2 separate regions of the Homo sapiens genome follow, and region 1 is linked to region 2. The links are contacts of gene promoters, found by promoter capture Hi-C in human tissues and cell types (Jung and others, 2019). All regions are on one chromosome and are shown on one strand. The core of a region is centred on a gene start or on the middle of the fragment in contact, and the rest is flanking DNA. Distances in the headings are between cores, read along the strand shown.

The links. Contacts are between HindIII fragments. The study calls those that stand out against the background at their distance.
Region 1: a fragment that was not itself captured here is called in contact with the fragment with the promoter of FAM124A in region 2 in 2 of the 25 tissues and cell types used here (adrenal gland and hippocampus).

Annotation. Positions count from the first base shown.
Region 1 is chr13:51,308,330-51,314,465 of GRCh38, forward strand. No RefSeq gene overlaps it. Among named protein-coding and RNA genes, the nearest start is that of SERPINE3, 28 kb to the right of the region's middle. The HindIII fragment of the contact is 3,900 bases long and covers 1-3,288 here.
Region 2 is chr13:51,220,667-51,227,327 of GRCh38, forward strand. It overlaps FAM124A (family with sequence similarity 124 member A), which reads left to right and starts at 1,732. Exons shown (of 4, transcript NM_001242312.2): 1 at 1,732-1,903. The coding sequence starts at 1,836. RefSeq lists an enhancer at 880-1,670 and silencers at 1,451-1,500, 1,621-1,680. The HindIII fragment of the contact is 11,319 bases long and covers 1-6,661 here.

The DNA of each region.
Region 1 (6,136 bases), core at 89-2,588, 87 kb after region 2:
TAAGGGAAAAAATGCCATAACACACATGCATATATAGTAAAAAATTTAAATGTAAATATGAATATGATCATGTATATCCATAGTTGTTTTCATGAAAAGAACTGAAACACAAGAAACCAGTACTCTTGGGGTAATAGAGCTAGGTGTTGGGGACAGAGCTTTGACACAGAGTCTTTTCAATGTACGTTATTTTGTGCCTTTCAAGTTTTGCAACCTTATGAATACCTTTTCTAAAAATATATTAAAAATTGTGCCTAAAAGAGAATAACTATTTGGGATTTTGCTATTTTGAGCCCTCTAAAATCAGAGCACCTCCTCTGCCCATGGATCTCCTAAGTCTGCTCTTTCATTTTCTCACAGTCAACCTTTTAGCAAGTTTTCAGGAACATTTTGAATGAAGAGGGAACAGCCTGCCCATCAGTGTTGCAGACCTTAGTCTCATTTCAAAATACAGACATCTCCCACTTACGTGGAGCAATTTCCCGTGGTTCTTCACTAGAGGTGGATTTACTGAGAAAGATCTCTCACATGCACAGACTTTTTCTTGTGGTCAGATACTTTGGTAAATTTGCAAAAGTAAGATATTTTAACCATGAGTTGTTAACACTCATATCTCTTTTAATTTCCCTTCATTCACTTCCCCTAATTGGAAAGCGGTGAGTCTGCAAGCCTTTTAGTGATCCCACTAAGGGGGAGTTAAGCTGAGGCTTCTCTTAATTTGGGTCTAGGAGACACACTTCTGCAGCCTTCTGTAGTCTTTTCCATGCATAGTTAAATCGTGGTTGGGGTCACAGTGCTAAGAATGGCTTCCAGGAGAGCCCGTCAGGCCGTGCACTCAGCTTCCCCTGTGAAGATGCAGCGCAGGGGAGTCACACTGGCCTCAGGGAGTGTCCTCTGGCACCATTACTGGGCATTGCAAACACTTGGGTGGTGGAAGAGAAACAAGGTTCGAAATGTCTAAGATCAGAAGCTTGTCTGGGGAAAATCCTTCCAATCCTAACACATGTAAAACTGTGAGCAGATTCAGTTCTGTTAAAAATAAAAGCCCACAGTTGAGATATACCCCAAGTCCAGTGGCCCATAACCATGCAACCAAAACATGTCATTCCAATTTCCTTGAAACGCTAATTCTAATCGTAAACACAACATGTAAATTTTACATCCTTGTCAATATGTTTCAGTGAAATGAAACTAATCAGCTACAGACAAATCAGTTTAAACAGCTCTCTTTGCCCTAAATAAAGGTAATGTATAACAGCAAATCACAAAAAAAGGTCAAAATACATCCTCCCTATGCTTTACAAACTATATTGTAAATGTTGTAAGGCAAGCTTCTTTTTTTTCTGAGACAGAGTCTTGCTCTATTGCCCAGGCTGGAGTATAGTGGTGCAATCTCGGCTCACTGCAACCTCTGCCTCTTGGGTTCAAGAGATTCTCCTGCCTCAGCCTCCTGAGTAGCTGAGATTACAGGCATGTGCCACCATGCCTGGCTAATTTTTGTATATTTAGTAGAGACAGGGTTTCACCATATTGGCTAGGCTGTTCTCGAACTCCTGACCTCAGGTGATCCGCCCATCTTGGCCTCCCAAAGTGCCAGAATTACAGGCATGAGCCACCGCGCCCAGCCAAGGCAAACTTCTTACTACTTGGTTTGAAGTCTCCCGGATCAAGATCTATACTTTTTGTATGACAATAAACTTTAAAATTTTTTCTAACTTGATCTAATTTTATTTTAGACAGCTCTCCACAGATGCTGAGTCAAACTAGAAGTTTTCTCATTAGGAATATACTCAGTAATAAAATATATACAAATATAAACATACCATGCATTTTTTTTCCTATGGGAATTACATGGAAGATAATTCATTAGAATTCCTTTGTCTGTAACACATAAATCTATAGCTAATAATACAAATAGTTTGTACTTCAGTAGATGAAGTCACATATTTTATACATCCTGACTGTCAATTAAAATTTCTTTTGGTCAACCATGCTAGAGGAAAGTCTGAATTATCTTTCTAATCTCTCTACAGAAAATGATATTACAAAATTATCGTTATAAAAAAAATGGATAACGCTGGGTCCGGTGGCTCACACCTGTAATCCCAGCACTTTGGGAGGTTGAGGAGGGTGGATCACTGGAGGTCAGGAGTTTGAGACCAATAGCGAAAACCCATCTCTACCAAAAATACAAAAAAAATTAGCCAGGCGTGGTGGTGCACACCTGTAGTCCCAGCTACTCAGGGAGGCTGAGGCAGGAGAATCGCTTGAACCCAGGAGGTGGAGGTTGCAGTGAGTTGAGATTATGCCATCACACTCCAGCCTGGGGGACAGAGCAAGACTCCATCTCAAAAAAAGAAAAAAGAAAAGAAAGAAAATAAAATTAAAATTTAAAATGGATAACAAGTATGCAGTCAAAAAATTGAAGCTAAAAGTATTAGGGAAGTTTGTCAGGTACTTAGCTTATTAAAATATCATGTTTTTCTGGATTTTGTATATTATGCTACTTGTTAGATATTTCCAATCTGTAATTTGTTGTGATTTCTTTTCTTATTCTAAGTATTTATTTTCCTATCTAATTTGTTTTAATATTTTCTATTCTTTTTTCTATAAAGTACACCCCAAATTATTTAAACTTCAGGCCCCACAAAACTTGGACCCATACCATGTATTCACTATCAATTTAAAATGTGAACTTGTCAGTCTCCCACATAAAGATTAGAACTAACAGAGCAGGGTGATTTTTATATTATACAGGGTTTTTTATACTAAAGACACTGACATCCAGATCAGCCCAGTAACCTGAGCCAATGAAAACTCTGGAAACAAAGCCCTTTCTCTAAATCCCCCATTAACTCCCCTTTAAACCATTGTCTCTTCAGGGCATGGAAAACAAAAATAGGTTTTCCCCAAAAATCTTCCTAAGCCTCAGTCTGCTTGCTAATCCTCAAGTGCTGTCATTCTCCCAACATGCTCAAGGCCTCAGTGAACTTCTCATTTTACATCTTAAAAGTGGAGAATTAATTATAAGACTTTATTCACTCAGTGATGGAACCTCTGCTGAGTGACACACTTTGCAATCTCATTTGGAGGGCTTGAAATTAACCCAGCATATGCCACACAGCTCCTGAATTCTCAAGGCTGCACAGCTGCCGTGCTGCTTTGGTTTTCATTACATGGGAGGCTTTTCCACCTGCTGGCTATGTCACAAAACCCAATCTGTCCTAGCGGGGCTTTTTTTGTTCACTTATTGAAAGTTTGGTTTTTAGCTATAAGCTGAAATCTGTATGAAAACCTCAACAGACAATAATAGTAGAAGTCGGCCAGGTGCAGTGGCTCATGCCTGTAATCCCAGCACTTTGGGAGGCTGAGGTGGGTGGATCACCTGAGGTCGGGAGTTTGAGACCAGCCCGATCAATATGGTGAAACCCCATCTCTACTAAAAATACAAAAATTAGCCGGGCATGGTGGCATGTGCCTGTAATCCCAGCTACTCGGGAGGCTGAGACAGGAGAATTGCTTGAACCAGGGAGGTGGAGGTTGCAGTGAGCTGAGATTGCACCACTGCACTCCAGCCTGGGCGACAGAGTGGTACTCTGTCTCAAAAAAATAAAAAATAATAGTAGAGGTTAGTGTTGTTCTTCTGTGCATTTGGAGAAAAAAAGTTTCCCTTATATTCCTGGCAACTACAGGAACGCATGGTTCAACTCTCCCTTGCAGAGAGAACTTGTTGCAGGCAGTATAGCTGGCTGTCAGCTGCTGCCCCTTCGGGATACAAAGCAGCTCACACAAGGCCATGCTCTCCCTGGGCTGCTCCCAGACAATGACTGGGCACAGTGGGATTTTAGAGCCAGAACATTCCTGCCCAATGCAGGATCCTCTAACAAGCAGTCTTTGCTCTGGAGCTCCCCATTGTTACCCAAGACTTTCTCACAGCTGCAAACTCTCAAGCTCTCCCTACCCAATCTTTTCTCCTTCCCTTTCTCCTCTCCCAGGTGTCAGGCCAGTATTATAGTCTGATGGCTCTCTGCGCCACCTCCTGCCCCTTCTTTCCTTTGTTCATCCCAGATACTTCCCCCAGTGAATCTCTTGCACGTCTAACTTCATCTTAGCATATGCGTCTCCAAGGAGTCAAACTGATACACCACCTTAGAACTGCTGAATTATGTGAGTAAAAGGGAAAAAAATTAATGCTATCATTTTTTGCAAAGAAAGACAGAAAATAATAATATTTATGGAGCATCTACTCTGTCAGGTATTGCTGGGCATTTGAAAATACATTGTCTCATTCAATTCATAAATGAGAGCTTTTTTTTTTTTTTTTTTTTTTTTTTTTGAGATAGACTCTTGCTCTGTCACCCAGGCTGGAGTGCAAGTGGTGCAATCTTGGCTCACTGCAACCTCCGCCTCCTGGGTTCAAGCAATTCTCGTGCCTCAGCCTACCCAAGTAGCTGGGACTACAGGAGTGCACCACCACGCCTGGCTAATTTTTGTAATTTTAGTAGAGAGGGGGTTTCACCATATTGGCCAAGCTCGTCTGGAACTCCTGACCTCAAGTGATCTGCCCACCTCAGCCTCCTAAAGTACTGGGATTACAGGCATGAGCCACTGTGCCTGGCCAATGGGAGTATTCTTATCCTTAGGATTTTAAAAATACAGGTGAAATTCTGGTTGACAAAGTGACTGTGGATGCCCTGGGTATTTACAGAGCTGTCAGCCTGACTTAGCTTTCTAGAGAAATTCTAGATTTGAAGTCAAGAGGCAGTTTACATACAGTTTTCCTGAGCTTAGGGGAAGGGCTAATAAATACGTTATTTTGTAGGTTGCATGGAAGGAAAACTATTACCTTTAGTGATCTTATATCCTTCCTTCACCCTAGCCCCTCTCAGATGAGAAATCTGCCAGGCATTCTTTCCTTATTGACTGTCCACCACTCTAGTTCTGAGAATTCTCTGCCAAAGTCCACACTGAGCCTGAATCTATGTGGTGGAGTCTGTCTTTCCACTGTAGCGTCAAATCTGACAGCAAAAGTTGGATCAAATTGTGGCTGTAGAATATCATGGAATGTTTAAAGCAATGTTTGCAACAACATTTATTTGGAACTCCCTAGCCTTTTTAATTATAAAAAGAATATAAAATCAAAAGAGTAAAAATATGGCTTAAAATGTTGGGTAGATATAGTAATAATGATAGCACCAACTGCTAGAACATCTGCTGACATCTCACTGCTTTCACCCGGCAGAAGCTTGTTTCTTGATTTTGTGAAGCCCCATGGTGGTGTTGGTGGGGCAGATGGTGAGGTCCTGGGCCACATGCAGTCACTCAGAAACCCAGATCCACAGAGGCTCTGCCATCTTCAATACCTGACATTTGCAAGATTGCCTTGGGTGTCAACGTCCATGTTGTATAGAAGGAGAAGGGAGAGAAGAGCCTGCTTCTGCTTTGCTGCTCACATTACAGCCATTGACAGGAACCAGCCACACAGCCAAACTTAAGATGCAAGAGTGGCTGGGCAAGAATGTGTCATGATGTGTGGAGGACAGTGGCCATCTCTGCCAAGCTGGCAATGCCACCTAGGGTGGCCACAATCTCAATTTGCTCAGAATTCTCCAGTTTGAGCACTGAAAGCTCCATGTCCTGGGAAATCCCCTCAGTCCCAGGCAAACTGGGACAGTTGTTATCCCATTAGTCAAAAATGAATTAACAATTTCAAATAATTTTTAGACAAAATTGGTTTTATATGAAATCAAGCATTTTGCAGATGATACAAAAACCTGAGTAAGTGATTAGAAAATTTTAAGAATTTATGAAAACAATGACCAGCAAGTAAAAGAGATACAATTGGCTGAAAGTAAATTGGAAATAAAATATTATAAAAACAATAACCTCCAAAGCTATTAAAAAATCTTCAATATGTGAATACACGTGGACACAAGGAGTGGAACAACAGACACCGGGACTTCCTTGAGGGTGGAGCTGGGAGGAGGGTGAGGACGGAAAAACTCTTCATCGGGTGCTATGCTCACTACCTGGGTGACAAAATCATTTGTACACCAAACCCCAGTGATTCGCAATTTGCCCATGTAACAAGCCTGCATATGTACCCCTTGAACCTAAAATAAAAGTTGGAAGAGGC
Region 2 (6,661 bases), core at 482-2,981:
ATCAGGGAGGTGGAGGCTGTAGTGAGCTGTGATTGTGCCACTGTACTCTAGCCTGGGCAACAGAGTAAGACCCTGTCTCAAACAAACAAGCAAAAAATGAAGTGAGGCTTTTAAAACCTGGGAACTGAAGCAGAAAGCCATGCATCACTAGAATACAGTGATACCGTTCAAGCTTCTCTTCCATATAATAAATGCATCACTGAGTTGCCATTAGACTGCTATGCCAATGATGAATGATAACACTGTGTCCCCTGTGGGCGAGGGGAACCTGAATCCATGCATCATTTTGAGATGTGGCTTGAGGTTTTGGTCTGGCATGCCCTTTCTCTGGATATTTGAGAAAGGCAGAAATCATTTAAATAGCATCTCATTTTCCAAAGCCCATCTTCTAAAAGTCATGCTGATTTCACCCTTTCTTCCCTGGCCTTTTCCTTAGTACCATCTTCCTGAGGATACAACTGGCCCACTCATCAGCCTTCTAGGTAAGTGGCACAGGCTCCAGCTACCTTAAGTGGACTACCTGGCTTCCCTGCTCACTGATAGGGTGTCCTGGGACCAGGCACTCGAACTCGGTAGGGTTTAGTTTCCTTGACGGTAAAATAGAAAAGTAAGCCTGTTTCACAGCACTTCCCTGAGGATCAAATGAGGCACAGTTTGAATTGTTCCCACACAGAGTAAATAAAGGCAGGTTCCCTCCTGGCTGCAAGATAAAAAATGGGCAGGGGAATCTCCCTTGAAGAACTGGCACGCTCCTTTCTTTCAGCTAATGCCCACCAATATGTCCATTGCTGTTTGGGGTGCAAGAAATTTTAGGCTCAGTAAGGACAATTCCTCCCAATGGTTTGGATAGGGCTGTCAGAACTAAATTCAAGTTGTTCGAAGTCTCCTTCCGCCCGCCCTGCCAACTTGCCTCCCTCTTCACCCTCCTAATAGGAGGTGAGCCCCTCCAATAGCGATCATTAACTCACCCTAAGGTTATCCCCTTGCTGCAACAACCCGTGAATTGCAGGTTCATTCAATGCTCTTTAAATTATTTTTAAAGGCTTTTTTTTTTTTAAGTAGCAAAAGAATGCATGACACCTATTGTAAACTGGCAAGTTGAGGGGGTGGGATGCCGCTCAGACGTGTACTGAGAAAGGTGATAATGAATTTGGCGTCAGCAATTCTTCAGAAACTATAAGAAAACACCCAGGTGTTCGAATTGGTCCCAAAAGGGAAACAAATCCTTCCCAGCTTTCACGATGCGCTGAGGTTGGTTTTCTCAGTGCTCCTCCCAGATCAGGAGGTGGGGAACCTCGTGGCAAGCCCTGGGGCTCGGGATTCCCGGACTGTGGGCCTGGGGGAGAGAGGCGGCTCTCGTGTGCACACTTACCCCGCCCCCACAACACACACGCGGTCACGCACCACAGACGGGCACACGCGCTCAGCACAGCCACAGTCGCGTGCAACCAGGAGTGCACACCGCACCCACATCACACCGCATGCACAGACGCACGGGTGTGAGACCACACACCTCGGCCACTCACGCTCACACGCCCCCCACGCGCTCGCACACGCGCTCGCACGCGCACTCCCCGCGCACCGCCGCGCGCACACGCGGGTCCCGCCGGACGGCGAGGGGCGGGGCGGGCGCGGGCGCAGGCGCGGGTGCCCAGCCGGGCGCGGTCGGGAGAGGGCGCGGCGCGGGGTTCGCGGCTGGCGCTTGAGTTGTTTGCCGGCTCCCGGGCCGCCAGACGCTCGGAGGGAGCCCGGCCGGCTCGGACTGGGCGGCCGGGAGGGAGGGCGCCCCGGGTCACGACGGCGCCCGCAAGCCGAGCGCGGCCGGGACGTGCACCATGGACCCAAAGGCGGGCGGCGGCGGCGAGGAGGACGACTGCGTGGACTCGGGCGCCGAGACCGGAGGGTGAGCCGCGCCGGGCCGGGCCGCGGGCGGGGGGCGCTCTCCGAGTTGCGCGGCGGCTCCTCCCCGGACGGGGACCCTCCTGATCCGTGCGACGGGACCGGGGCGCGGGGCTTCTCCTCCTGCCGGATCCCCCGCTCTCTCCTGGGCGGGCCGCGCTGCCCTGGGCAGGGCGGGCACCACCCGGGGGGAGGAAAGTGGAAGGACTCAAGGTTCAGTGCAAGCCCACCCATCCTGTGAGGCGATGCAGAGCGCCAGGCGGATGCAAAGACCCCTTGTCTGCATCGCTAGAGACAGGAGATGCTCTTGCACTTGTTTCCTCCTTCCTCGGGGACTTTCCTCCTGTAGCTCCGGAGCCCCCTGGAGTCCGGCCCTGGAGATCGGGAGAGGAAGAAAAGCAGGGTGGGACACCCGCACCTAAAAGTCTTTCCGAAGTCGGCTAGGAGGATGGCATTTCTCGTTATATGGCTTCATCGTGGGACTTTAATCTGTGCTGCCGAGTCCCCCTCCCCGACTCCTCCAGTCCCGCCGAACTTCCTCACCTCTAAGTGCACCTGTCCCAGCTGGACCCTTTGGCCTGTTGTACCGGCGGGATGGAGATGGTGTTGGGATTAGGATCTAGCCCTGCCTTTTTTTTTTTTTAATATTCTCTTCGCTTCAGCGGACTCAAACAATGGGCTCAAACCTTTGGAGACTAATTAGTTAGTCTCCAAACACTGTTTTCCTGAGCGGAAGAAAAGACAAAATGCCTTTTAGGAGATGAATGTCGTTATAAAGGCTTCCAGGCAGCCTCTGTCTCTAAAGGACTTTCCTGTGCAGAGTCAGCACCACATCCAGGCCGCGGGTACTGACCCAGGAGGAAAGGGTGTTTTTTCCTATCTGGAGTAATCCTGGGGGAGGGCGGGAGCTGCCTAGACTACAGAAAGCCTCATTCCTGGAAGGTCGGAGAGGTTTTAGACTAATCTCAGGATTTGGCAACCCTGTGAGGGCAGGTAGAGAATCCAGGCCCACGATCGACCCAGAGTTCTAACCCAACCCCGGCAAAGCTCCCCACAGGGCCCCTCCTGCCCCACCACTCCTAGCCCAAATGCGGGACTTTACTCCCTAGGGCATTCACCCAGCAATGGGCTTTCTCTGTTATCCAAACTTATTCATAGCTCTCTACAGCACCCAATTATAATCTGGTGGAGTAACCTGATGCTAAATGCCAAACTTCCTTTCTTCTTCCCACTCTTTGTGTAAGTGGCATTTATCAACTTTAACAAGATTATTGGCTTTTTTTTTCTGCCATTAGTTAGCTGGACCATGAATAGAAGAAACAAAGCAAAATTAACCAGCTTATTTGTAACTGCGTTAAATAAAGCATTCACTAGTCTATTCATTTTCAATTTGCAGAACTCACCTAAAACTGATATTTTTTTCAAGGGCTCTGTCTTAGAGAAGGGAGAGGAAGTCCTGGACCCAGGGGGTGACATCGCCCCAGGATCTGGACATCAGCATGACAGCGGCCAGGCCTCCTGGGAGGGGCTCCCCACTCCTGCTGACACCAGAGCTTCTGTTCTCAGCCTCTGTCACTAAAATGTGTAGTTGTAACAGGACAGAATTGTTTAAAGAATTCTTGGCCAGGTGCGGTAGCTCGCGCCTATAATCCCAGCACTTTGGGTGGCCGAGGTGGGCGGATCACCTGAGGTCGGGAGTTTGAGACCAGCCTGGCCAACATGGAGAAACCTCATCCCTACTAAAAAATATACAGAATTAGCCAGGTGTGGTGGCGCATGCCTGTAATCCCAGCTACTCGGGAGGCTGAGGCAGGAGAATCGCTTGAACCCGGGAGGCGGAGGTTGCCATGAGCTGAGATCACGCCATTGCACTCCAGCATGGGCAACAAGAGCAAAACTCCATCTCCAAAAAAAAAGGAATTCTTACTGTATCACTAGTATCCTTAAGCTAAAGGTAAAATAGCATGCATTTCAATGTATGCTAATTAGTTTTGTGTTTGCCATATATTCACAGAGCCCTTGAATTTCAGTTATCAAAAAGCTGTTCATCGTTTCCCTGCTTTTCCAGAGCTTGCCCCCACCCCTTACCCTATCCAGCTTTCACAGAGATTATGTAGAAAGCACATAGAAGACAACAAGTGTTTGCTATCGTTAGTATTTTTAAAATGCAAATCTGATCATGTCTCTCCCTTTCAAACTTTTATGGCTCTGTTATCTACAAATGCAAGGAATTTAACGTGGCCTATATGCCCTGACTCCTGTTATGGAGTCCCTTCTTCCCTCCCTGGCCTTGTTTCTCAGCAGGTCCTTCTTTGCGCCTTGTATTTTTCTGTTTCCTCGCCTTTGTCAAGCTGCCCTCTTTGCCAGCTCTGCCCTTCCCACCTGACTTGCCTGTCTGCCAGGTGAAACTCTACTCTTCTTTCAGGACTCAGCTCAAGTGACACATCTGCTAAGGCAGTGATCCTTAATTTGGGGTCCATGAATTCCTTCAAGTTGTATGCAAAATGATGTGCTTTGTGAATTTGTATGAGAAGAGAACTTTTTTTTTTTATCAGATTCTCAAAGTAGCTGGTGATCTATTCCAAACCAAGTTTGGGCAAGATATGAGACATTTCATTTTCAACACACTGTGTCTGAGGTGTTGCAAGACATCCAAGTAAAGATGATGAATCAGCAGTTGGGTATATCTGTCTGGAACTCAGAAGGGAGGTCTTCATGATGACATTGCATTTGGGTACTATTTACCTAAAAATGGCAATGGAAGCTCTGGGAGAGACTAAATCAACTGAAGGTAATAGCAAGCACTTTCTTAGCATTTAGTATGTGCCACCTACTGTTCTAAGCCTTTATGTATTTCATGGACTCCTCGAATCCTTCAACAACTCTGTGCAGCAGGTGCTTTTTAAGACCAGCCTTGAGAAACTATATTTAAACGCCCAGTCAATGAGAATGAGCTGATAAAGGAGCCTGAGAAAGAGTAGACTTGGAGTCAAAGAAAGAAGAATATGAATCATTGAAGCCAAGGGAGGTTTGAGTTTTTGAGAAAGGAAGGAGAGATCAACTATGCTACTGAGAAACTAATGAAGATGAGGAACGCTAAATGTCTTTTTTAAATGGAGATGATGAAGTGAAGGAAGAGTGGTATTTCACAGCGGGGTGGTGGAGGCAGGAGCCAGATTAGAGTGGCTCTAGAAGGCAGTAGAAGGTGAAGAAAAGGAGACAGGTGGATTCCTTTGTCTGGAAAAAGGAGAGGCAAAAAGAGGCAGTAGCTAAAGGGGAGAGTGGAGTGAAGAAAGATTTCTTAAATATAGGTGCTAATTGAGCAATCAGTGTGATAGAAAGGATTCTATAGAAGGGGGAAGGAGAAGGAGGAGAAAAGATGATAATCTGTAATGTTGCTTGCTTGCTTTCTTTTTTTTTTTTTTTTTTTTTTTTTTTTTTTTTTTAACAGACAGGTCTCTCTGTCACCCAGGCTGGAGTGCATTGGTGGAATCATGGCTCACTGCAACCTCAAATTCCAAGGCTCAAGTAATCCTCCCACCTCAGCCTCCTAAGTAGCTGGGATTACAGGCCCGCACCACCGACACCATGCCCAGCTAATTTTTTTATTTTTATAAACACAAGGTCCTGCTATGTTGCTCAGAAACTGTCTTAAACTCCTGGCCTCAAGCAGTCCTTCCACCTTGGCCTCCCAAAGCACTAGGATTATAGTTGTGAGCCACTGCTTCTGGCCCTATAGTGTCAGCATTCTGAAAAAGTGGAGGCAGATGGACTTCATACCACAGGGGGATGGATGGCTTTAGGTAGGAGGCAGGACATCCCCTCCTGCAATTAGAAGGGCAGGCAAGATGGGGTTTCTCTTTGGTGTAAATACAGCCCTCCATCATCTGAGGAGAATGGAGATTTGAATAGTTGTTTGGGGCAATGTTGAGTGGGTGCCCAGTTGAAATTTGCAATTACGTATTTAAATAAATAACAAGGGGTACGAGTTCCCGTTGTTATTTATTTTCTCGCAGCAATGCTCAACTACCTAGGGTCAGGCAGAGAGAGAGAGTGGGTAGTTAGGATCATCAGAATTTGGGGTAAGGGGGTGTGAACAAAACACAGAAACAAGGGCTGTCAGGGTATTGCTTAAGCTGATTATCCTTTCAGTGGCATGATGGAAGAAACAGTTCCGAGAAACTTTGTGGGTCCCACTGCCAGTGGCCATGTTGGCCACTTTGAAAGTTACAGTCACAAGAGCCAGCCTGCTTGCATTCATATTCTGGCTCCTCCACTTAGGGACTGTGAAACCTTGATCCAGTGACTTAACCTCTCTCTGCTCTCAGTTTCCTCCTCTGTACAAGAGGGATGACGATAGTAGTACCTACCTTCTAGGGTTGGTGTGAGGATTAAATGAGCATATATATTTAAAGCCCCTAGAACAGTGGCTGTTCAGTGTCTAGAACCCTTAGTACATGATTATTTCTCACCATACTATATTATTATTGTTATGAGGAACACTCCAAATTATAAACTTAGAGTTTTATTTAATAAAAATGGTGAACTCAAGACCATATGTTTTTCAAACTCATCACAATAGATCCTCTGTTGCTTTTAAATACCTTAAGTAATTTGATCATTCAGAGCATCTGAGAGACTACAGGGCATGCCTCACTATTCTAATAATTATATTTTACAGATGAGGAAATGGAGACTCAGAGGGCACATGGCTCGTTAGAGGCATGAATTGAAGCCTGGATCTCCAGTATGCTTCCCACCT